Linked DNA regions of Homo sapiens: all the other regions are linked to region 3. The links are contacts of gene promoters, found by promoter capture Hi-C in blood cells and fetal thymus (Javierre and others, 2016). All regions are on one chromosome and are shown on one strand. Each heading gives the region's core, a stretch centred on a gene start or on the middle of the fragment in contact. The rest is flanking DNA. Distances are from core to core; before and after follow the strand shown.

Evidence for each region. Contacts are between HindIII fragments. The CHiCAGO score rates a contact against its expected background, and 5 or more counts as called.
Region 1: a contact is called between a fragment that was not itself captured here and the fragment with the promoter of WDR26 in region 3, in 1 of 17 cell types (neutrophils). The highest score is 6.4, in neutrophils.
Region 2: a fragment that was not itself captured here is called in contact with the fragment with the promoter of WDR26 in region 3 in 1 of 17 cell types (neutrophils); the score reaches 6.8 in neutrophils.
Region 4: a fragment that was not itself captured here is called in contact with the fragment with the promoter of WDR26 in region 3 in 1 of 17 cell types (neutrophils); the score reaches 6.7 in neutrophils.
Region 5: a fragment that was not itself captured here is called in contact with the fragment with the promoter of WDR26 in region 3 in 1 of 17 cell types (neutrophils); the score reaches 7.9 in neutrophils.
Region 6: a fragment that was not itself captured here is called in contact with the fragment with the promoter of WDR26 in region 3 in 1 of 17 cell types (neutrophils); the score reaches 6.5 in neutrophils.
Region 7: a fragment that was not itself captured here is called in contact with the fragment with the promoter of WDR26 in region 3 in 1 of 17 cell types (neutrophils); the score reaches 5.6 in neutrophils.

The regions. Positions count from the first base shown.
Region 1 is chr1:225,920,006-225,923,557 of GRCh38, reverse strand. PYCR2 (pyrroline-5-carboxylate reductase 2) reads left to right here. Exons shown (of 7, transcript NM_013328.4): 3 at 1,175-1,354; 4 at 1,479-1,700; 5 at 1,914-2,006; 6 at 2,187-2,350; 7 at 2,938-3,552. The coding sequence ends at 3,103. MIR6741 (microRNA 6741) reads left to right here and starts at 1,416; the gene lies at 1,416-1,478. The HindIII fragment of the contact is 1,886 bases long and covers 966-2,851 here.
Region 2 is chr1:226,090,465-226,094,021 of GRCh38, reverse strand. No RefSeq gene overlaps it. Among named protein-coding and RNA genes, the nearest start is that of LINC01703, 8.7 kb to the right of the region's middle. The HindIII fragment of the contact is 3,567 bases long and covers 299-3,557 here.
Region 3 is chr1:224,432,981-224,436,487 of GRCh38, reverse strand. It overlaps WDR26 (WD repeat domain 26), which reads left to right and starts at 1,691. Exons shown (of 14, transcript NM_001379403.1): 1 at 1,691-2,804. The coding sequence starts at 2,083. It also overlaps a transcript of CNIH3 not described here. RefSeq lists an enhancer at 783-972 and a silencer at 1,313-1,712. The HindIII fragment of the contact is 13,558 bases long and covers 1-3,507 here.
Region 4 is chr1:226,070,326-226,073,685 of GRCh38, reverse strand. H3-3A (H3.3 histone A) reads right to left here. Exons shown (of 4, transcript NM_002107.7): 4 at 1,667-2,335. The coding sequence ends at 2,207. Among named protein-coding and RNA genes, the nearest start is that of H3-3A, 9.3 kb to the right of the region's middle. The HindIII fragment of the contact is 1,018 bases long and covers 1,516-2,533 here.
Region 5 is chr1:226,022,671-226,026,374 of GRCh38, reverse strand. No RefSeq gene overlaps it. Among named protein-coding and RNA genes, the nearest start is that of SDE2, 25 kb to the right of the region's middle. The HindIII fragment of the contact is 8,184 bases long and covers 1-3,704 here.
Region 6 is chr1:222,644,284-222,647,944 of GRCh38, reverse strand. It overlaps MIA3 (MIA SH3 domain ER export factor 3), which reads right to left. Exons shown (of 28, transcript NM_198551.4): 7 at 2,260-2,391. Among named protein-coding and RNA genes, the nearest start is that of MIA3, 28 kb to the right of the region's middle. RefSeq lists enhancers at 3,209-3,288, 2,889-3,661, 3,359-3,661. The HindIII fragment of the contact is 1,853 bases long and covers 588-2,440 here.
Region 7 is chr1:222,719,807-222,723,648 of GRCh38, reverse strand. BROX (BRO1 domain and CAAX motif containing) reads right to left here. Exons shown (of 13, transcript NM_144695.4): 5 at 1,135-1,230. Among named protein-coding and RNA genes, the nearest start is that of BROX, 9.2 kb to the right of the region's middle. The HindIII fragment of the contact is 6,451 bases long and covers 1-3,842 here.

The DNA.
Region 1 (3,552 bases), core at 659-3,158, 1.5 Mb before region 3:
CCACCTTCTCTTGGGCAGCTCAATGTGGTGGGAACACCCAGGGAGACATAACTGGGGGTCAGATCCAGACACTGGAGTGGTAGAGGATTAACTGAGGTGATTATGTGATGAAAGCACCTGGCACATAGTAGGTACCTAATAAATACTCATTTTTTAAATTTTTTTTCAGACAGGGTCTTACTCTGTCGCCCAAGCTGGAGTGCAGTGGCGCGATCTCAGCTCACTGTAACCTCCGCCTCCCACCTCAGCCTCCCACCTCAGCCTCCCGAGTAGCTGGAATTACAGGCATCCACCACGCGCAGCTAATTTTTGTATTTTTGGTAGAGAATACTGTTGGCCAGGCTGGTCTCGAACTCCTGGCCTCAAGTGATCTGCCCGCCTTGGCCTCCCAAAGTGCTGGGATTACAGGGGTGAGCCACTGCGCTCAGCCATTTTTCTTAATAGACGAGTTGTATGACCTTAAAGTACTCAGCCACTTTGAGGCTATTTCCTCATTTACAACAGTGGCCACTTTGCTGTTATTCTGAGTCGTGAATGAGCATATTGGGAAGAATCTGGTGAGTTAGTTGTTCTGTTCTCCAAAAACATATTCCAAGTCTTCACCCAAAACCTGTGCTCTGTGGGAGAGGATGGCTGATGAGGCAGGTGACAGGCAGTGTCTGTGCCTAGGGTGGGCTGATGTCCCTAGCACTGGAGGGTCCTGCTTCTCAGTTTGGAGTCATAGAGGGATGGATGGCTTCCAGCCTAGCCCTGGACCACATGGAGACTGTGCGGTCCCCACGAACAAGCGGCCAGGGTTAGGATAGGGCCTGACTCAGCTGTGCTTTTAACGACCAGGTATTAGCATTTCCCTTTGCCCTGCCACTTTCACCATAGGGCCTTCTTACCTGGCAGAGGAGTGCCTTAGATACCAGAAGATTGGCAGGGAAGAAGGGCAGCCACTTCCTGGTTACCATGGAGAAGCTTGTCATGCTCCAAGCCTGTGCTTACTTGTCCAGTAGCAACAATGGGAAACTGTATTATTTGGGGTAGGGGTAGAACCCTGAGGGCATAAAGCTAAGAATTCCAGGCTGCATCTGGCAGAATCGGTTTGGCAGGGGTTCAGCTGCTCCCTGGGAGGCCTTGGCATAGCCAGGCTGCTCCAGCACTGTGAGCTGGGAGTCTCCTCTTGCAGAAGATGGGTGTGAACCTGACACGCAGCAACAAGGAGACGGTGAAGCACAGCGACGTCCTGTTTCTGGCTGTGAAGCCACATATCATCCCCTTCATCCTGGATGAGATTGGGGCCGACGTGCAAGCCAGACACATCGTGGTCTCCTGTGCGGCTGGTGTCACCATCAGCTCTGTGGAGAAGGTGCCCATCTCAGCCCTGATGCCCCTTGTGTGAGGGGAGGGTTGACCCACGAATGGCAGCTAATGGGTGGGTGCTGGTGGGAGCCGTGCCCTGGCCACTCATTCGGCTCTCTCCCTCACCCTAGAAGCTGATGGCATTCCAGCCAGCCCCCAAAGTGATTCGCTGCATGACCAACACACCTGTGGTAGTGCAGGAAGGCGCTACAGTGTACGCCACGGGCACCCATGCCCTGGTGGAGGATGGGCAGCTCCTGGAGCAGCTCATGAGCAGCGTGGGCTTCTGCACTGAGGTGGAAGAGGACCTCATCGATGCCGTCACGGGGCTCAGTGGCAGCGGGCCTGCCTATGTGAGGCCCTCATTTGCTCGCTCAGCCTTCTAGGAACCCAGGCAGCAAGATGGGCTGGCAGGCAGGCTTGGACTGGGGGTGGCGCCCACCTCTTGGGCACAGCTGGCTGGTACAGGATGCTGACCCTTGGAGCTAGTTCTAGTCATCAGAAAGCAGACCTAAGGAAAGGCCCTTCAGTGCCTATGGCCTGGGGCTTAGTGAGTGTCTCCACAGGCATTCATGGCTCTGGACGCATTGGCTGATGGTGGGGTGAAGATGGGTTTGCCACGGCGCCTGGCAATCCAACTCGGGGCCCAGGCTTTGCTGGTCAGTATCTTTCCCCCGCATGTTCAGGACCAGGGTGTAGAATGGGGGTTCTTGTGCATCACTGAACTGAGGTGGGAGTTGGTTGGGAAGCTGGGGTAGCAGTTGGGCAGGAGCAGTGGGTATGGGAAGCCTGTTCCAACGCACACCAGCAACTTTCTCCTAATGTGCCCTTCCCCATAGGGAGCTGCCAAGATGCTGCTGGACTCGGAGCAGCATCCATGCCAGCTTAAGGACAATGTCTGCTCCCCTGGGGGAGCCACCATCCACGCCCTGCACTTTCTAGAGAGTGGGGGCTTCCGCTCTCTGCTCATCAATGCAGTTGAGGCCTCCTGTATCCGAACACGGTGAGTCCATCCCGCGGACTTCTGTCCCAGACCCTTCAGTCCTGGTTGGTCCCTGGGCTGGGTTGAGCACCATTTGCGGAACCTGCTGTCTTGGGTCCCATTTAGCAGTGTTGGAGTCTGTGCTCTGTTAATAACCACAACTTAGTAGATTTTGTTTACCTAAGAGTTTGCAAGCCTTACTTCACTTAATTCTCACTGCATTTCAGATAACCAGGATTAACTTTGACTTGTAGATGGGAAGTTGAGGCTCAGAGATAATTTTCCCAAGGTCAAACAGTTAAAAAGTGATGGAGACAGGATTCTAATTTGAATCTATGACTCCAAAGCCTGTCACTCTTCCCGTGTGATCACAGATACCACTTGGGGCTCTGATCAAATGAGATAAATAAGCAAACCCTAACTTAGGTAACTAATACTTCTTAGAAGTACTAGTTGGGAAGTACTAGTTGGGAAGCGTTTGTCTTGGGGCTCTAATTTTTGGTGGTGTCACATCAACAAGCTTGAGGGTTGTGTGGATAGTGGAGACTCAAAGCTCTGGCCCCAGGGTTTATTGCCTTCCTTTAATCCTTCTGGGGTTTTGTCTGCAGAGAGCTACAGTCCATGGCCGACCAAGAAAAGATCTCCCCAGCTGCCCTTAAGAAGACCCTCTTAGACAGAGTGAAGCTGGAATCCCCCACAGTCTCCACACTGACCCCCTCCAGCCCAGGGAAGCTCCTCACAAGAAGCCTGGCCCTGGGAGGCAAGAAGGACTAAGGCAGCATCTGTCCCCTCTGTGATTCAGAGCCCTTAGTTGAGAGCCCCTGCCGCCCCTGCCACCCCCCTGCCCCGCTCCCACCATTGCCCCTCCTCAGCTGTGCAAGGAGAAAGCATGCTTAGGAAGTTTTCAGGTCCTTGTGATAAAACCTCCTTAAATCTGTTCAGACCAAGCAATGCGAGCTTCCTCTCCTGTCCCATGTTGGAAGTTGCTCTGAAGGGGTGGTAGATGCTGGAAGCCAGACACAACCCTGCGTACGCTGCTCAGTTGGTGGAGACTGGGGCTGGGACTGGAGTCAGCCCAGCTGGGAGGAGGGGCTGGGGAGGATCTGCAGCTGAAGCCCGAGGCAGGGTTGGTGTGATGCCAAGGCAAAGTGGTGAGGAGAAAACAGGAAACGGGCTTTCTCTGAATTGGTAAATGGGAAAGAAGTGAGCAACTTAAGATTGTC
Region 2 (3,557 bases), core at 833-3,332, 1.7 Mb before region 3:
CACCCATGACATTCCATTAATCGACAGCAGCCTCTGGAGAGGCAGTGGTGACAGAAGCTCTCATTTTATTGCTGAATGAACTGTGGCTCTTGGGGTTCAGTCACATGCCTAAAGCCACACAGCCAGTGCAAGGGGAGCCGGAGTTGGAACACAGGCTCCCTGACCCCAAAGCCCCCATTTCTTTCCAGCCACTACTTCCAGCAGGCCTGGCAGGGGCTGGGGAGAGAGGCCAAGCCCTTGCAGGGTGGTCTAGCAAGCCAGGGCCCAGCTGGCTCCCAGGAGCTAAGTCTATAAAGCTTCCCTGACAAGAGACACTTGGGGTCTTCCCAGCCCTTTGCTGGCAAGTTTTATTAGAAATGTCTTTCTGGCACTGTGGTCAAGTATTTTTGGAAGTTTCTAAGCATCTCGACGCTTGGAAAAGTGCATGGTTAGGCTGGAGAGAAGACTCTCAGGGAGTCGTGCTGAGGGAACAAAACTGGTGATCCAGGAAGTGAAATCAGCTTCATTTCTTTATGATTCTGCGGCCTTTTCCTGACCCCAGGACAGATCTGGGAAGCGGTAGGTCAATAGGCTCCTAGTTTGTGTGTGTGATGGTGGTGGTGGGTGGAGGATGAACTGAAGGGCGAGGTTTCCCAGCCTTCTGAAATCCCCTACCTCTGCTCCCTGTAGACAGAGGCGCTCTCTTCTGCTGTCTCCTTGTAAGATCCTGACAGCTTAACTGACTAATAATTTCTAGAAGCAGGGCTTCTTCTTGATACCCTCCACAGAGGTCCTGGTGCAGGATGTAAAAGGAAAGAAAACTCACCCGTTCAGGAGACCAGGAAAGGGAAGTTTTATGGATTTAGGAATCTAAGCCAGAGCAGCTCTGAAGTGAGTCACGATTTCTTAAGCACACACCATATTAAGCAGCTCATCTAGGCATTGTACATCTATTTTTAATACCACTATTGATGTATATCTTACATATTGTATAACTTACTCATTTCAAGTGTACAATTCAGTGAATTGTTAGTAAATTTACCAAGTTGTGTAACCCTCACCATAAATCCATTTTAGAACATTTCCATGACTCCAATAAAAGACTGCAGTCCCATTTACTGTTAATCCCCATTCTCCCCCTTCTCCAGGCAACCTTTAATCTAGTTTCTTTTTTGCAGAGATGGGGTCTCACTATGTTGCCCAGGCTGGTCTTGAACTCCTGGCCTCAAGCAATCCTCCCACCTCACCCTCCCAAAGTCCTGAGATTAGAGGTGTGAGCTGCAGTGCCCAGCTCCATAATCTATTTTCTGTCTCTAAATTTGTCTTTTCTGGACATTTCATAAAATGGAATCATAACAGGCCAGGCACGGTGGCTCACACCTGTATTCCTAGCACTTTGGGAGCCCGAGGTGGGTGGGTCACTTGAGGTCAGGAGTTCCAGACCAGCCTGGGCAACATGTTGAAACCCCATCTCTACTAAAAATACAAAAAAATTAGCCAGGCATGGTGGCGCGTGCTTGTAATCCCAGCTACTCAGGAGTCTGAGGTAGGAGAATCACTTGAACCCGGGAGGCAGAGGTTGCACTGAGCTGAGATTGTACCACTGCACTCCAGCCTGGGTGACAGAGCAAGACTCTGTCACAAAAAAAGAAAAAAAAACCCACTAAATAAAATAAATAAATAAATACATGGAAGCATACAGTATGCATTGTTTTGGGTCTGGCTTCTCTCTCCACGTAGCATTTGCAAGACTTATCCATGGCATAGCATGTATCAGTAGTTTGTTCTTTATCATTGCTCAGTAGTATTTCATTGTGTGGATGTACCACATTCTCTCTATCCATTCGCCAGTTGATGGACAGTTAGGTTGTTTCCTTTTTTTTTTTGAGACAGGATCTCATTCTATTGCCCAGGCTGGAGTGCAGTGATGTGATCATGGCTCAACGCAGCCTCAACCTCCGGGACTCACGTGATCCTCCTGCCTTAGCCTCCTAAGTAGCTGGGACTACAGGCATGTGCCACCATGCCTGGCTGACTTTTTTATATTTTTTGTAGAGATGGTGGTTTTCCCATGTTGCTCAGGCTGGTCTTGAACTCCTGGGCTCAAGGGATCTGCCCACTTTGGCCTTCCAAAGTGCTGGGATTACAGACATGAGCCACTGTGCCCAGCCTTGTTTCCAATTTTTGGCTATTATGAATAATGTTACTAAGAACATTTGTGTGTAGATAGGCTAAATCCTCACAACAATCCTGTCAGGTGGGCATTGTCATCCTCACTTTAAAGACGAGGACACCAAGGAACATAGAGATTAAGTAACTCACCCAAGGGCACACAGCTGCAATATTTCATCAGGCCTAGGAAGCACATTTTTCCCATATTTTCATGCTTCTGAAACTGGGATGCATCTCATAATCAGTGGCTTGTCATAGCTTACTTACAGCATTTTCCCCTTTCCTCATGGTACATAAAATGATGGTATGTTTTACAATCAAGGGCATCTTGATGAGATATGGCATTAAGTGGCTGGCCTTAGAGGTCTCCCTTACAGTTCACTCTTGTGTTAGGCCTGTTGGTTGTAAGTGACAGAAATCCCACTCAAAGGGAAATTTACTGGCTTGGTAATGGGAGAGGATCCTCGGACTAGGTCTTTGGGTTGGAGGAAGAGCTGCAGGGACCCTGAAAGGGGACTCCACACAGTTAAGTCTCTGTCCGTCTTTTGTTGCTGCTCATCTTTGCCAGCAGGCTCTGTTCCTCCATGAGGCAACCCCCGCTTAATAGTCCAAGGAGTGAAGTAATCCGAAAAACCTCTCTTCCTACCTCTGTGCATCAATTCTAAGGGAGAATTCTGAATGGTCCTGCTGGGATCACATGCCCATCTCTGGCCCGTCACTGTGGCCTGGGGAACGAGTCCCTCAAGGATCCAGCCCTGGAGGACATGCCCTTCCTTGTGGGTAGAAGATCTGTTGCCAGGCCGGGCATGGTGGCTCATGCCTTTAATCCCAGCACTTTGGGAGGCTGAGGTGGGCAGATCACCTGAGCTCAGGAGTTTGAGACCAGCCTGGCCAACACGGTAAAACCCTGTCTCTACTAAAAATACGAACATTAGTCTGGCGTGGTGGCGGGCACCTGTAGTTCTAGCTACCCAGGAAGCTGAAGCAGGAAAATCGCTTTAACCCAGGAGGCAGAGGTTGCAGTGAGCTGAGATCGTGCCACTGCACTCCAGCGTGGATGACAGAGCGAGACTCCATCTCAAAAAAAAAAAAAAAAGAAAGAAAGAAAAAACAAGAAAAGAAAAGAAAATCTGTTGCCAGAGGAGGGTAAGTAAGTGAGTTGCATGGCCAGCATCATTGAGCCTTCGGGCCACTATCACATGGTGTCACTCATTGTCATGTGATTATAGATATTACTGACTAAGGGGGTCTTTAGAAAGAATATCTGAAGTTTTTGATTTGTTTATTCTGTTGTGAGGTAATATTCTAAAGAGGTTAATTATACCTCTAAAAACTGTGTTGTTTGAAAATTAGCTGGGTGTGGTGGTGGACTCCTGTAATCCCAGCCACTTAGGAGGCTGAGGCAG
Region 3 (3,507 bases), core at 442-2,941:
TTTGTCTGTAGCTGCCATGAAGTGACTGATTTCCTTTATAAAACCTACAGTCTTTATTCAGAAGCAAGTCTTCAATGTTGCTATGGGCCTAATAAATTATTATAAACCATTTTGCAAAAATTAAATTTTGCCTAAACAACACTTTTAATAATAAGGTTGTCTAAAGTTAATATACAAACAGGGCTCTCTGAGGGTGTTAACTATCTAGTAATTCAGGCTCTGCTGGATACAGTGACAGAGCTCTATGAACCTCAACTAGAACTCAGGTCGGCCTCAGGTGAATATAAACACTGTATGTGAGTCACCTTGCAATTACAGCTGCCACCTGGAAGCAAATTTAAGCAGTAAGAACTACAAAACCAAATCCCTGTAAGATCCTGCATTGACCTTCCTCTTACTTCTTCCTGTCTGAGGATCCATAAACCTCAGGATTCTTTACTAATTTCTCATCAGCATCATTTTTTATTGTATTTCCAAATTTAAAAACAACTGTCTCCAAAGGCCTCAAAATTACTTTCAGTTATTACTATAATAAATATCAGCGATGTATGATGTATTAATTAGAAACTAAGGTGTTTTTTTTCCCCTCCCCACAGGAAAACTACTTCAGAGAAAGACTTTAAATTTCTGAGAAAATCTTTATACATATTGAGTATAGATGCTATCAACCACATACATGAAAATAATTGTTTGGGGATAATGCACACCATTTGCCAATGATTAAGATTCAGCCCAGTCTTTGTTGCTGCATTTCTACATTCACATAAATTGGTAAGTCATGATGACACAGAAGGCTCACATGCCACGTAAAAATTTCAAGCCTGGATCTGAATGGGTGCCTGAATCCTTCTCAGAATGCATATTTTGGAGGCAACTGTTTGGTTTATGTTACTGCTCCCTAAACTGGGCAGTGACTCAAGAGGCAGCTGGAAGAGAGAAGGAGGTGCTGGGCAAGTGCTAAAAAAGAGTGAAGCCTCAACAGCAGAGTCCCTCCCCTTCTCTACACACCACACAGCCTTTTTGTGACTTCTTGTCCCCATAAGATATGCTCCTCTAGACTAACTCCCCTTCCCAGGGTGGAGCAGAGTCTCACCGGCTCATTATCTCACAGCTCCCGGGATGGCCCCGGGTACAGCAACTGTGTGGCACTTGGCTGTGGAAATTCAAGTTTTTCCACCCTAAAACAAGTAGGTTGTGAAACCCGATTTCGGTCCTGGTTACCATTGAGAGGGGCCTACCACAGCCCTGTGCCTGGAAGTTCCTGCCTGTCGAAGCTCCTAGCCCCCTGCCCCATCCTCACCTTCTGCACCTGATGGAGAAGGTGCAGTCCCTCCGCGCACCTTACATGCCCATGCCACACTGGTGGACTCACGCACGCACGCCAACTCTGCCATCCCATGCACGCCCGGCTTCGGAGGGCGGCTACGAACTTACTGCTCGTCGAGCCAGCCGAGCCAGGGCGCAAGGGGAAAGGCCCGAGCGGGGCCGGGGATAGGATCGGATAGGAGTCGGGGTCGTGGATGGGGTCGGGGCGGACCCCGCCGGCCCGCTGGCCTCCCTCCCCTGACCCCCGGGACAGCCCCCGATGCACGTGCTGGGTGACAGGCCCCCTATAGGTTCCATACCTGCCACCGGAAGTGAGTGAGGAGGGCAGTATAGGCATTTCCTGTGACGCGAGCGCCTGGACTCCATTAGGCAGCAGCTGGGGGAAGAATCAACACACCAGGGAGCAGAGCGGAGCGGATCCGAGGACAGAGGCGGCAGCTGCCTCCGCTGCCGCCCGCCGCCGCCGCCGCCGCAGCCACTGCCGGGGCTCAGCCCAGCGGCGGGCCCCGCGCCCCCGCAGCCGCCCCGCGGCGCCCCCCGGCGCGACCCCCGGGCCGCGCACCCCGAGCTGCCTCCGGGAGGGGGGGGGGAAAGGGCCCGGATCCTCCTTCTCCCCCTCCTCCTCCTCCCCCTCCTCTCACCCTCACCCTCACCCTCCTACCCTGACCCCCTCCCCGCCTCCCCGGCCCCCCTCACCCCGACCCTCTCCCCGGCCCCCGCCTCCCCTCCCCCGCCTCGCCCCACCGGCTTCCCACCACGGCCTCTCTCGGCGAGGAAACTCTGGCCTCCGCTTCCTCCTCCTCCGACTCGGACACCGGCGGAGCCTCCCCGCCCCCGCGGAAGAAACCCCGAGCCTCGGCGGCGGAGGGAGTAGGAGAGCCCGGGGCTTCGGCAGGCAGAGCAGGCCTCTCCCCTCCGTCCTCGTCGTCCTCGTCCTCCTCCTCCTCCTCCTCCTCCGTGGTGGTAGTGGTGGGACTTCCCCCGGCTGCTGCCCCTCCCGCCGCCGCTGCTGTCCCCCACCGAAGTAGCGGCCACAGCCTGGTCAGCGGCAGCATCATGCAGGCCAATGGGGCAGGAGGAGGAGGAGGAGGTGGCGGCGGCGGCGGTGGAGGAGGAGGGGGCGGCGGGGGCCAGGGACAGACCCCGGAACTCGCCTGCTTGTCGGCCCAGAACGGGGAGTCGTCCCCCTCGTCGTCGTCGTCCGCGGGGGACCTGGCCCACGCCAATGGGCTCCTGCCTTCCGCCCCCTCCGCCGCCAGCAACAATAGCAACAGCCTGAATGTCAATAACGGGGTTCCCGGCGGGGCGGCCGCCGCATCCTCAGCCACCGTCGCAGCTGCCTCCGCCACCACCGCCGCCTCCTCTTCCTTGGCCACCCCAGAACTGGGCAGCAGCCTCAAGAAGAAGAAGCGGCTCTCCCAGTCAGATGAGGATGTCATTAGGCTAATAGGACAGCACTTGAATGGCTTAGGGCTCAAGTAAGTATCCCTTACCGCCAGCTGGTGATGGACAGACCGAGGGACGGAGGCTCCAGGGGGGTAGGGGAAGGGGCGGAGGGGGGAGGGGGGCTTGAAAGAGCTCGGTCAAAGAGAATGAGTGCTGGGCACGCAGGACCCAGTACACAGGAGGACGCGGCTCAGGGCGACCGGGGAGGAGGAGCGGACCTGAAAGGAAATAGGGGAAAATCAATCAGTCTGACAAATTGTGAGACGAGACAGGCGTTGAGGGGTTAGGAAGGGTTAGGAGAAACCCAAAGAATGACTTCTCCCCACGCACCTTCAGAGCTTAATTGTCTGTCAATAAAGACAGATGCGGGAGTGTGTTTCTGTATGTGTTGGGGGAGGGGTGGATTAGAGCTGGTGGAAATAATGAACCTTGGAGGATTTGTTTTTCAAGTGTATCTTGGAGGCATCTTTGTGGGACACCTCCCCACCCCCAACCGTGGCAGACAACAACCCAAGCAAACTACCAATCAGGAAAGACAATCACCTACAAGTGTTTATGGGAACGGAGGGGCTGGGATCATTTGGAAAGAGGTTGTTGAATAAATCTGATGCGAATAATGAAGATACAGTGTTGATGTCGTTTAAAGGCCCTTGTGTGTGTGTACAAGAGGCCTAACCCTAACTAGTCTGAAATCTCAGTTTAATACCAAGAAGATGATCGCCTCTGAAAAGGGGA
Region 4 (3,360 bases), core at 775-3,274, 1.6 Mb before region 3:
GATTTTCCTAAGACGTTTACCTGAAATTTTTTTTTAATCTTAAAATATAATTTTCTGGGGTTTTTCATCCGTTAACTTAGACTTTAGTGAACTTTTCTGGAATCTTAGAAGGTGTTTGTTGGCTATTTACTTTGCTATTGAAAAGCTGAAACAAAGTGGTAATTCTAGCTAGTCTCCATACATTTTGGGCCGAATTCCAATTCACTCTAGGTTTTTTTTCTGGGTGGGACTGCCATATAGCAACTCTGAAGCATCATAGGAAAGAGGATTATGAGCCTAACAGTTACCGAGCATTAACCCAGGGATTAAAGAGCTGGCAGATCCACTTACACCTGAGTCAAAGGATAGCCCTGAGCTCAAAACTACTATGCATATTTGTCAGGTCCTGGTAAACTAGGAATATATAAGAATACATGCCCAATATTAACATAGCATTGTATGAGACAATTCAATAAATTGACCAGACATTTGTGTACATACGTTGAGTGCCAAGTTTATCTTTGTGCTTTTTTCTATCTGGCTCATTTTATAATGTACAACTTACTGTATTATACCTGGACAGTGAGCACATAGTACTAAATATTTGTTTAAACATTGAAATTATGTTTAAAAAAAGAATTGTTAACAACCACTTCATGGGGCAATAAAAAATGTACTTTTAGAGCATTAAAACTTTTCGAGATTTTAGGATTCCAAGAACTCAAAGGACTGTATTGTCTACTTGTAAATAACTGGTCTTTATCAGATTCCAGCAGGTAACATTAACTTCCTCCCTTACTGGAGACACCTTTTTCTTCTGAAGTGTTTCATGAAAAGGCCATTTGGTCTTTTGCACTGAAAAACTGGATTGAACAGAGAACATTCAACTACAATTGGCTTTTAGTAACTTATATTGAGAAAGTTCCAAGTGTTACCCGTACTTCCCTGTAGAAGTACATGCAAAAGATCATACTGAAAACTAGGATGCATGCTAACAAAATCAGCCTCTTAAAGTAATTAATTCTCCCATTAAAGAATTTTATAGTCACCTATAGTCAAAAGATTAAGTTATGGCTAAATGTTTAAGAGCAGTAAGAATGCAAGCCCAGTGTCGTATCTTACTGACATGCGTCTATTCTTGGCATAGTTATTAACATTTCGTATCACTTCTAGGGCAGTTTCAAACACTCAAACGTTACAACTAATGGGATGTGTTAAAAGTCTTAGAAGGTTTAATTATCCTCATTTCACATTAATTGTACCAACACTAAATAAAACAGGGCTAAGAATTAACTATTAGTGCTTGAATAAATTCAGGGTTAACTAATAGAGCATCTTAAAATAGCCAGATCTTGAATGCATTAATTTTTGAGCTAAAGACTGTTACACACTCTCATTTGTTATTAAACATTCATGAAAGTTCAATCTACTTACAGATTCCACTATTTCCAGGTGATCCTGTTGATTAGCTTTTCGAATTATTGGTTCAGAAGACAACACATCCAAAGAGTTAAGACCACTGGGTAGTGGCAAGCTTCTAAAAATTAGAAATAAAGCCAAGTTCCTTTTGCCACCAAGTCTATACTTTCCTTCTCTCTCAATAAGTCTCACGTCTCAGATATAAAGTGACTATTAAAGGACTTAATACTGAAATTATTTGGAATATAATTGTAGGGCAAGGCTATAATAAAGACCAAAAGCAGGTATAGTTTAATGTATTTTAATAGCAAACTTACAGGAACAGCACAGAAGACAGACAACATTAAAAACATGTACTTGCATGTAGGACAACTCAGTTAGAAAAGTATAGTGAATGGATGGAATCTACTGTATGATAAAAATGCTACAAACACCATTTAGTTGCCATCAATAAGAAATTTACTTGTTTTAAAAAAATCCAAATGCTGGCATTGTCCAGAAAAATTTAACAGGTTTATTTATAATTATTATAAAGTTGAACCGCTGAAACTTGTTCACTGAAACATTTTAACTTGCATTAATGCTTTACGTCTCCGCATTTATATTAAAAATTCACACACAAATGAAAATGGAAAAACTGCCAATACCTGATTTCTGTCCCCTATTTTTCCACTCGCAATCATATACTTAGGTACCTTTTGACCCCATGGAAAAAAAATATCTAACGTTCAGAACTACCAATAACAGGAAGAAGAGAAATTTTTTTTTTTTTTTTTGAGAATGAAATGTTTCCCATCATAGTGGATTCTTAAGCACGTTCTCCACGTATGCGGCGTGCTAGCTGGATGTCTTTTGGCATAATTGTTACACGTTTGGCATGGATAGCACACAGGTTGGTGTCTTCAAAAAGGCCAACCAGATAGGCCTCACTTGCCTCCTGCAAAAGGAATGAAGAAAAAATTACTGATGATGTTATTTCCAATAGTTAAGACCCAACTATACGAATTAAAACAAAAAGGTTTTTGAACCCTTTAAAAAAATGACTGGGCAAGATGCTGACAATTTTACCAAATGCTTACATTTTACAACCTGTGGGACAAAGCTCAAAAGCAGCTTATGAAAAAAAACAAAAGCTTAAGTCAGTAAATCTTTTATCAAGTTACACAAATCAAATTACTTTGTTACTAGGAAACTTCAATTTTTCTAATGGTAACATGATTTCTAATAAACTGAAATGTCACAAATAAAGCAAGAAATCCAATTTAACACTCTCATTCTTATAAACGCAATCATGTCCAATCCAAATACCCCATCCCAGCCTAGTCTCCTCCTCACTCTGAATCCCATTCACACAGTATGTGAACCTCTGCCTTGTCCAGTAGTATAACATGGTGAACAAGTGGTTTTTATCACATGCTTCTCATCTATGTTCCCTTTCATACCTGTTTTATCATAAGAGTACTTTTGATTCCAGAACATATCACAAGTTAGTTCCGTATTTCTTTCTTTCTTTCTGAGATGGAGTCTTACTCTGTCGCCCAGGCTGGAGTGCAGTAGCGCGATCTCGGCTCACTGCAACCTCCACCTCCCGGATTCAAGCGATTCTCCTGCCTCAGCCTCCCGAGTAGCTGGGACTACAGGTATGCGCCACCATGCCTGGCTACTTTTTTGTATTTTTAGTAGAGAAGGGGTTTCACCATGTTGGTCAGGCTGGTCTCGAACTCCTGACCTCGTGATCCACCCACCTTGGCCTCCCAAAGTGCTGGGATTATAGGCGTGAGCCACCGCGCCCGGCAGTTCCTTATTTATTTATTTTGAGACGGAGTCTCTCTTTGTTGCCCAGGCTGGAGTGCAGTGGCAAGATCTCAGCTCACTGCAAGCTCCACCTCCCAGGTTCATGTCATTCTCCTGCCTCAGCCTCCCGAGTAGCTCGGGCTACAGGCGCCCACCACCACGCCTGAC
Region 5 (3,704 bases), core at 905-3,404, 1.6 Mb before region 3:
GGAGGATCACTTGAGCCCAGGAGGTTGAGGCTGCAGTGAGCTAAGATTACGCCACCGCACTCCAGCCTGGGTGACAGAGTGAGACTCTATCTCTAAAAATAAATAAGCAGGGCCAGGCGCAGTGGCTCACGCCTGTAATCCTAGCACTCTGGGAGGCAGAGGTGGGCAGATCACTTGAGGTCAGGAGTTGGAGACCAGCATGGCCAACATCATGAAACCCCCGCCTGGGCGCGGTAGCTCACGCCTGTAATCCCAGCACTTTGGGAGGCCAAGGCGGGCGGATCACGAGGTCAGGAGATCGAGACCATCCTGACTAACACGGTGAAACCCTGTCTCTACTAAAAATACAAAAAAATTAGCCGGGCGTGGTGGCAGGTGCCTGTAGTCCCAGCTACTCGGGAGGCTGAGGCAGGAGAATGGCGTGAACCCGGGAGGTGGAGCTTGCAGTGAGCCGAGATCACGCCACTGCACTCCAGTCTAGGCGACAGAGAGAGACTCCGTCTAAAAAAAAAAGAAGAAAAAAAAAGAAAGAAACCTCCTCTCTGCTAAAAATACAAAAATTAGCTGCGCATGGTGGTGGGCACTAGTAACCGCAGCTACTCCAAAGGCTGAGGAGGCAGGAGACCGGAAGGCGGAGGTTGCAGTGAGCCGAGATTGCGCCACTACAGCCCGGGAGAAAGAGTGAGACTCCGTCTCGAAAAATAAATAAATAAACAAACAAACAAATAAGTGATGCAGCTGTGAAGTGGCCTAGGGAGAAGTAGGGAGGAAACAGGCAAAAGAAGAGATGGTAGGAATAAGAGACAGAGAGAGACAGACCTCCTCCCTGCCACCCCCAGAAAGGTTAAGAAAGAAAATTAAAAAAAAAAAAAAAAAAAAGCCAGGCACAGTGGCTCACACCTGTAATCCCAGCACTTTGAGAGGCCGAGGTAGGCGGATCACTTGAAGTCAGGAGTTCGAAACCAGCCTGGCCAACATAGTGAAACTCTGTCTCTACTAAAAATACAAAAACTTGGCTGTGTGTGGTGGCGGGCACCTGTAATCCCAGCTACTTGGGAGGCTGAGGCAGGAGAATTGCTTGAACCTGGGAGGCGGAGGTTGCAGTGAGTGGAGATAGCACCACTGCACTCCAGCCTGGGCGACAGAGTGACACTCCTTCTCAAAAAAATAAAAAATAAAATAAAATCAATCAATTAAAATCCGTAGTCTTTGCACCACATTTTAAGTGGTAGTACAGTTCAATTTTGCCCTAAATTTACTATTTGTATTTTGTTATATCTTCTAAATCAAAGTATAATTGCAAGAGTATAAAGTACACATACACTATGTGCATGTCTTGAGCATATACTAATAAAATTATTTACTTTTTTTTTTTTTTTGAGACGGAGTCTTGCTCAGTCGCCCAGGCTGGAGTGCAATGGCGGGATCTCGGCTCACTGCAAGCTCCGCCTCCCGGGTTCACGCCATTCTCCTGCCTTAGTCTCCTGAGTAGCTGGGACTACGGGCGTCCGCCACCACGCCTGGCTAATTTTTTTGCATTTTTAGTAGAGACGGGGTTTCACCGTGTTAGCAAGGATGGTCTCGATCTCCTGACTCGTGATCCGCCCGTCTCGGCCTCACAAAGTGCTGGGATTACAGGCGTGAGCCACTGAGCCCGGCCAAAATTATTTACTTTATAAATATCAAAGTTTATCATTGTAGAAATGACAGGTCATATATAACAGTATTTATCTATCTATCCAAGTCAGAAAAAATTACTTGCTGAAAGAATTAAGTTTAAAAAACCATTTCCTACTACCTAAACATTTGGTCAGCTAGCTTATGATTTCATTTGTCTGTTTTTATCCTGTTGTTTTTGCATCATGTAAGTACATTCTTAATGGCTTTTTAAACAAACTAAATGAGTAAATGTGGATAAAAGGCTTAAGAGTGCTATATAAATGTGTACATTATTATTATTTCTGACTCTGGAAATTAACAGAGCTAAGAATATTTTTAAGGTGCTGAGAACATTTTACTATATTTTTACTTATTTTTTTTTTTTGAGATGGAGTCTTGCTCTGTCACCCAGGCCGGAGTGCAGTGGCACGATCTCTGCTTTCTGGGTTCAAGCAATTCTCCTGCCTCAGTGTCCCGAGTAGCTGGGATTACAGGCGCCCGTCACCACACCCAGCTAATTTTTTTGTATGTTTAGTAGAGACGGGGTTTCGTCATGTTGGACAGGCTGGTCTCGAACTCCTGACCTCAAGGCCTGCCTTGGCCTCCCAAAGTGGTAGGATTACAGGCGTGAGCCACCGTGCCCAGCCCCATTTTACCACATTTTCTATACCCATTTTGGGATAATAACAGAACAGGTATTTCCAAGGCAATGTCAGGAAACACCACACATTTCCCTAACACTTTTTGCTGACTACACAGAGAATGGGGCAGATAACTATTGACATGTGGCAGGGAGATGTACTTACAACTACGATTTATCTGATTAATTACATTTTCTGACAACTAGCATGACGACGTCACAGTATCCAAAATGGAAACTCATGTTACAGATAATATCCAATCCATAGATAATAAAGAAGGACACCCCCTCCCCCATCCAGATACTTCTAAACTTGTTTATGTCTAAAAGGATTTTTTTTTTTTTTTTTTTTTTTTTTTAGACAGAGTCTCACTCTGTCGCCCAGCCTGGAGTGCAATGGTGCGATCTCCACTCACTGCAACCTCCACCTCCTGGGCTCTATTGATTCTCCTGTCTCAGCCTCCCAGATAACTGAGATTACAGGCACCGGCCACCATGCCTGGCTAATTTTTGTATTTTTAGTAGAGACGGGGTTTCAGCATGTTGGCCAGGCTGGTCTCGAACTCCTGACCTCAAGTGATCCACCCGCCTTGGCCTCCCAAAGTGCGGGATTACAGGCATGAGCCACCATGTCCAGCCAGGAATATTCTTTTTAAAAGACATTTTACAAAGAAAAAAAATCTCTAAAGTTTTTTCCATCTTAGTATTCTCTAATTTTATTAAGTGTGTATCACAGAAAATAGCCAAGTACAATAGAATTAAATAGGCTGCACTTTAATGATCAGAGATATTTGATTATAGTTTGGGTATTAGGTGAAAATAGGAAGTATTGTTCATCCTGTTAGGTGTGAAATTGACATTATGGTCAAACAAGAACATATGCACATTTTTAAGAGACACATACTGAAATATATATGGGTGAATTGAAATTTTAAAAAATTTTATTTATTTATTTATTAACCATGGGGTCTCGCTATGTTGACTAGCCTCCCAAAGTGCTAGGGTTGCAGGCATGAGCCATCATGCCTGGGCAATTGAAATAATTTCTAGGATTAAAACAAAAAATCACAGAGAGAGAAAGTGATAACGTGGCAACATCTTGATAATTGTTAAATCTGATGATGGGTATATGAAGGTTTATTGTTCTGTCTACTTTTGTGTAGGTTTAAAATGTTTATATAAAAAGGGTTTGTTTATTTTATTTTAAAATTTAATCTATGTGTTTATTTATTTTGAGACCAGGTTATGAGACTGGCTAATTTTTGTATTTTGGGTAGAGGTGTGGTTTTGCTGTGTTACCTAAGCTGGTCTTGAACTCCTTGGCTCAAGTGATCCAACCACCTCAGCCTCTCAAAGTGGTGGGATTACAGGCGTGAATCACCACCCCCGGCCAACAAAAAAAGTT
Region 6 (3,661 bases), core at 265-2,764, 1.8 Mb after region 3:
GTATTACTGTATACAATAATTAATATACTGTATACATAATAATTCCAGTATCTAAATCTCACTTATAATACCATTGTTATAGGAATATGCATTCAGAAAATTCCAACATGGAAAGAAATTACTATCTCTCTAATGTCATGGCCTTGCTAATTCCTCTGCTCCATTTCACCCAAACTAACAGGCAAGCAGAGACCAAGGTTCCAAAAGTCAAGTGCTGAGGCTGAGGAACAGCAGTTAGGACACAGAGCCTATATAACTTTCTGAAAAACGAAAAAGGCGTTAGAATTTTTTTATTAACAAATAGGAGAAACAAGAGTGGGAAATGTAAAATGTTTTCAACTTTTCCCCTTCCATTTACCCTTTGATTCTCCCTTTTTATCTGAAGAAAAGCACCAGGAGGTTAGAGAAGGCCTCACAGGAAAAAAGACCCTTCTTTTTAAGTAATTTTACAATCAATTGTGAGAGAAAATTTATTAATGATGATATATGTGATATAATTATGAAATCAGAAAAAGAGTACTCAGTTTTAGAAAGATTTGCATCCAATAATTTTGGCCATTTTAACTGTGAAGTTTCAATACAAAGCTTTTCATCTGCAAAGCTCATTTACACAAATAATCTTCTCCCAATTATGTTAAATAACTATGCAGCTGAATGCTATATAGTATAATCATAAGGATGTACAAGTATGAGTATACACACTTATACAAACATGTTTAAGTCTGAAAGGCAAATTCTGCACAGAAGATAAAAAAATTAACGGTGTGTCTTTACACATGATATAATTTGCATTTCGAAATAAAAAGATATTTTCTGAGTAAAATAGTACATGATGAAATCAGAAAATCTGGAAAATACACATTTTTTAAAAACTGAAAACTTACCTCATCTCCTAGATATAAGAATTTTTATCATTTTATTGTATTTCCTTGCAGCATTTATTTTCTGTGTGTATGTTTATGTAATATACAGTTTATCTATACCTTAAAGTCTTGGTTTCTACTTTTTTTCTACTTCATGTTAAATTGTGAGTATTTGTTGTGCTCCTATGTCTTTGAATTATATAAAGCAGCCTAATATCCCATTATATGAACATACAATAATTTAACAATTTTCCCACTGTGAATCACAGTAGGTTGTGTCAAAGTTTTCACTCTAATAAATACTGTTCTACTGAATGCTCTCATGTAAGATATTTAAAACTTTTTTTTGAGACAGAGTCTCACTTTGTCGCCTAGGCTGGAGTGCAGTGGCATGATCTGCTTCCCCAGTTCAAGCGATTCTCCTGCCTCAGCCTCCCAAGTAGCTGGGATTACAGGCTCCTGCCACCACCCCCGGCTAAGTTTTGTATTTTTAGTAGAGATGGGGTTTTGTCTTGTTGGTCAGGCTGGTCTCAAACTCCTGGCCTTATGTGATCCACCCGCCTCCGCCTCCCAAAGTGCTGGTATTACAGGTGTGAGCCACCACGCCCGGCCATGTAAGATATTTAATGCATGATTGGTTATTTCTTTCTTTCTTTTTTTTTTTTTTTGAGATGGAGTCTCACTCTGTCACCCAGGCTGGAGTGCAGTGGCACATCTCAGCTCACTGCAGCCTCCGCCTCCCAGGTTCAAGCGATTCTCTGCCTCAGCATCCCGAGTAGCTGGGATTACAGGCATGTGCCACAACACCTGGCTAATTTTCGTATTTTTAGAAGAGATGGGGTTTCATCATGTTGGCTAAGCTGGTCTCGAACTCCTGGCCTCAAGTGATCCGCCTGCCTCGGACTCTCAAAGTGCTGGGATTACAGGTGTGAGCCACTGTGCCGGCTGACTGGTTATTTCTTTAGGATCGATTACTAGACATGACATTAATACAATATAAAAGGATATAACCATTTTTAAGGCTTATCATACACATCATGAAACTATTTTTCAGGATGGCTCTAAGAATTCCTAGTTCTACTAACAGTGTACATATGACCTATCTAATTCTTTCTTTTCATCCTTTGTGAGTTGAAATACAGACCCACCTAATTCTTAAAATTTAGACTTTGATATGAGACATATAAACTGAAGTTTTCCCACTGAGATTATACATGTTGTCTTATTCACTTAAGAATTTACCAACACAAAAATTATACTAAATTATTTTACAAGGTTAGCTTGAATTAAAAGCATTAATTTCTGTTCATATTAGAAACTGAAAAAGAAACAAAAGGACTGTGATTATAAAACCATACTTGAATTTATGAGTTAAAGTATGCATTAATTTACTCACAACAAGGACAGTTCTCCATAAGAAAATGGCAAACGAAGCAATTCCCAAGAAGGCAGTGATAAATACAGGTTTCCATGGCAGTCCATAAAAATCAGGCCCAGGCTGAACATCATCAGGCAATGTAGCAACTAGCTGAATGTTAGAAATAATGTTAGAAATAATGAGAAACCTTAAAGAAGCTTACCATAAAGCAGTCACAAAGACTCATTCACAGAAATTCTAAACCAACTCTATCAGATACCTATCCCCTCAAAAATCTTCAGTAGCTCTCACTGCTTTAAGAAAAACAGGATACTGGGAGTCTCATACTTATTGTTTGGCCTGTGGTGTTTTGAAGTACTATGACTCTAAATGTCTTTAGGTTGGGCATATATTTCTAGTTTCAATAGGCCCTGATACAATATGTTATCTAAAACATGGCTGGAATCTCTCTGCATCATACTTTTGTCTTGAATAAATTGGTTTTTATTGCTTAAAAAACCACATAAGACAAAAAACCTTTTATATACAAGTAACTAACTTTTTATGGCTGCAAATAAAACCAATATGATGATAATGAATATCACAAATAACGTTTTATTCCTCTAAGATTTAAAATCTTAAATCGACTTACATAAACAAAGAACAAATGCTGACTAAGTTCGGATAGCTCCTGATAACTGATCTAGATAAACCGCTTTGAATTTAGTGCCTTAATTCTAAATGTTTCCTTGAAAACAGTGCATTAAACACCTGTCTGCTCTATGCTGTTTCCACAGCCCTTTACAAGTACACTATCACACTGGTCCCATCCCACAACAGAGCCGGGGGTTATGCAGAAAAGACCTGTAGGTTCTCTGTGTTTTGATCATGACTTCACACCAGAACATAAAGTGCTGTCACTTCGTAAGTACTCAATAAAAAAAAAAAAAAGAGTGACGAAACCTTCTCAAACACACTCCCACCTGCCTCCCTAAACAGCATAGAAACGTCTTGCTTTCCTCGGATCTGACACACTCCATTTCTCCTTTGCACAGACAATCAGTGCACCCACTCTGCTTAGAACTCATCCACCCGCCTGTGACAGCTTGGGTCCCTCCCCGGGAATCGGGACTGTCACCTCCAGCAGCTTGGCTATGAAGGCTGCGTAGAGCACAGACAAGGGTCCCACAAGTTCCGGGTCCCCCGGGGTAGCGGCGATAGAAGGCACAGTGGCAGGTACTGAGTCCATTGTGTAGAACAGCTGAACGCAAGCGACAATTCCCTGCGGAATGGCACTGGGCCCCCTGTTTTTCAGAGCTTCCTCCTCCGGAAAGGCCCCAATTCAGGGGGCGGACTCTGGGATTGAACTTCGCCTTCCACAGCTGCCTGCACTTTCGCTTTATGCCGCCTATAAAACACGTCATCAGCCACTGCCCCTGGC
Region 7 (3,842 bases), core at 337-2,836, 1.7 Mb after region 3:
AATGCATATGAAATGTACGTTTATAGGAAATTAGTAAAAACTGTAAAGGATTTTGAATGCTAAGCCAATCAGTATCCCACAAAAAGGTCTTGAAAACAAGTATATGACATAAAGGTAACATTAAGATGGCAAAAGCATGTCAATATGTCTCCAAAAAGAAGATACTACAAATGAAAAAAAAGAGACCCTAACTAGGTGTAAAATCTGCAGCCAGGCATGGTGGATCATGCCTGTAATCCCAGTACTTTGGGAAGCCAAGGCAGGAGAATCACCTGAAGCCAGGAGTTCAAGACCAGCCCAGGAAACATAGTGAGAACTCAACTTTACAAAAAACAAAACAAAATAAAATCCAGACAAAGCCTTATTTTTCCTTACAGACATTTGTATATAAACAAGACAAAATATTACACACTTAATGCATATACATGCTTAAGAAACACATAGATACACAATGGTAGCTATAATCATTACTCTGCTCTTATTTTAATCACCTAATTTACTTTAGAGATAATTTTACATCAGCACATACAATTTGACATCATTTTCAAGTGGTTGCATATTATTCCCACGTATGGATGAACCATAAATTGACAGTTTCCTATTGCTGTATCCACTATAGCTATTATAAAAATTGTATCACCTTTTATAATTATTTAATCCTGCAAAACATCTTTTCACATACTGCTAGCCTTCTGTACTTGTTTTCTGTGAATTGCCTGTTCATGTCCTTTGCTTTTCAATTGATTTGACGGTCTTTCCTTTGCTGATTTATAAGAGTATACGTTATAAAAACAAACAATTTATCATATGAATTGCAATGTTTTTGACCAATCTTGTCATTTGTTTTTTAACTTTGTTTACGGTCCTTTGATGTAGTTAAATAGTCATGCTTTTACTTTATGGGTTCTTGATTTGGGGTCTTACTTAGCAAGACCTTCCATATGACAAGACTATTAAAATTTATTTTACCTCTTAACGCTAGGTGCCATAATTCTGACACTCAAAATACTAACATTACAAGGCAATCCTTCAAACATCCAAAGTGGTACTTTTTAAAATAGATTTTTAAAATAATGAAGCGCCACATACTTGAAAAATAACACAGATGTACACAATCCTCTCCTATTAACTTACTTTTCTTTTCCAGCCAGTCTTGAAGCATATTTGGTATACCATAAAGCTACATTAAATCCCATGGAAATTAATTCAAAAACAGCATCCTGCTGGGCACTGGAATTATAAACATGATCATTAAGTTCTGTCAATTATCCAGACATCACACCATGAAGCCTACTGGATATCCGACTCAAAATTACAAAGAAGTATATGCTAACTGGTATGTATGAGGAAAATGGTTGTGTTTAATATAGATGGGGAGATAAGATGTACAGGTAATTAACTACAAATGGCTAAGTATAATGGTCCAGAAGGTACTATGTACTTAATAATAAGCATGGGAATAGGAGCTCCCAAAGTTTACTGCACATAGAGCAGCTTTTAAAATACAGATTTCTGGGCCTTAATCCCAGAGTCGGAAAGCCTGGGATGGGGCTTAGAATCGTATTTTTAACAAGTACTCAGTCGATTCTCAAAGGTGTGGCTCTTATACAACATTTTAGAAAAATCAAATTCAGAGGAGAGATTGTTTCAGGCTAGAATAATTAAGAAGGTTTAATGGTATATATAAAATCTGAACTGTCCCTGGAAAGATGACTAGAAGGGAAGCAAAAGGACATCCCAGGTGAGGAAACAATGCCATCAAAGCCCAAGAGGAGTATAAAAAATTTTCTGGTAGAAGTGACCCAATGAGCTTGACTGGAGCAGAAGGTATGTAAAAAAGAAATCAAGGAAAAGAAGGGCAAAAAGCAAGCTGAAGGCAAACTGTATAAGATTCTGAATGCCTAGCCAATCAGTATTCCAGAAAAAGGTCCTGAACACAAGTATATTTTATACCTTGTTTCCTTCAGATTCTATTATGAAGTATGAAATAAAGATGGCAAAAGCATATCAAGCAAATAAGATATTCATAACAATATATATTCACTATTGTTCTTAGAAGAACCTGAAAATTTTTTACACATGATCTCATTTATCTCAACTGATGAAGAAAGCAGAATATCCTTATTTTACACACGTAATACTAAGAAACAGAAAAGCTACCCAAAAAGAAGAAACCAGAATTATCATTCTACTTTTTATTTTTTAGTTACTTGTTGCCCCTGTCTTAAGATAAATGGAGATATGGCAACTTTTTAAATGAAAAAAAAAAAAAAAAGTGTTATAAAATATGTAGTAATTAAAAAATAATTTCTAAACTGTCTTTAGTATAGATTATAACATCCAAAAATGACAGTTATGAACAAACTTCTCAAAACAGTTTTATCCTCCTGAAAAAAATTTAATACATAGTTTAATAGCTTATTATTTTCTGCACTGAAACTATCAAATGAATTACATCTGGAGATCTAGTGGACATGTCTAATTTATAACTTTTAAATAATATAACAGTTTGGCTAATTTAGTGAAGTCTCATGAGTAACTCTTTTCCTTTATAATCCTTCATTTAACATGCCTTGTTTCCAAACACTCCATTTCTATGACACCACATAAAAGTAGTAGTCATAGTAACTATAATGGAAAAAATATTTTTCAGAACAGATAAACTCACAACACGATTTCCACTGAGTAAGCAGCAATCAAGAATAAAGTAACTTAGAAGTCTCACTTGTGCTGAATATTTAGTATTAAAGTCTTCATCACATAATTCTTCACTATCTCATAAAACTGCTGAAAAAAGGTTAAATAGTAGCTCACTTTTAAATTTTTTTATTTTTTTGAGATGGACTCTCGGTGTGTCGCCCAGGCTGGAGTGCAGTGGCTTCATCTCAGCTCACTGCAACCTTGGCTTCCTGGGTTCAAGCGATTCTCCTGTCTCAGCCTCCCAAGTAGCTGGGATTATAGGTACCTTCCACCACACGTAGCTAATTTTTGTATTTTTTAGTAGAGACAGTGTTTTACCACGTTGGCCAGGCTGGTCTCAAACTCCTGAACTCAAGTGATCTGCCTGCCTCGGTCTCCCAAAGTGTTGGGATTACAGGCGTGAGCCACTGTGCCCGGCTTTAGCTCACTATTACACAGAATCAAAATGTTGCATGGTCGGAAAAATGCCAAATTTATGAAATGCACACATTATAGAATCTGTCAAAATAATGACAGAGGTTTGATTCTTTAAAAAAGTCTTTTTAATTAAAAAAATTGCTTAATTTTGGATTAAAAACAAATGGGTCACATTAAAAAACAGAAAACAAGGTCTTAGAAAATCTGAGTATCCCAGAATATTATGAATTCGACATAAAATATTGCCAAGGAAGGAAGAAAGGAAATGAACATTTAATGAATGTCTTATAAGCCTAGTACTGTTGTCAGTCACTTCACAAAAATTTTCTTATTTTGCTTCTCACAAAGTACTCTATCTGTAGCCCCAAGATATAGTTGAAGAAGCAGATGTTCATGCAGTAGAAAACCTGGACTTGCATCTAAATATGTACAAACCCAATGTTCATACTCTTTTCGTTGTAATGTACAGTCTGCTCTGGTCTTTCAGCAACCTCCACTCCTTCCTTTCTGTTTTTATAAAATAGTAATTCTAAAGCAAATTGGGATTAAAATATACGGGCATTTCAACAACAAAATGGTGTTGAAAAACAGTAGGTAAGTAAAAAATTAACACCATTGTGATCTGTTTCGTTATAATTAGATCTATTACAAATAGTTTCAAGTGAGTGATAAGAAAGCTCTGAAGAGAAGTTTTTAAAAAGAGTAGAAATAGGGAAGAGAGATAA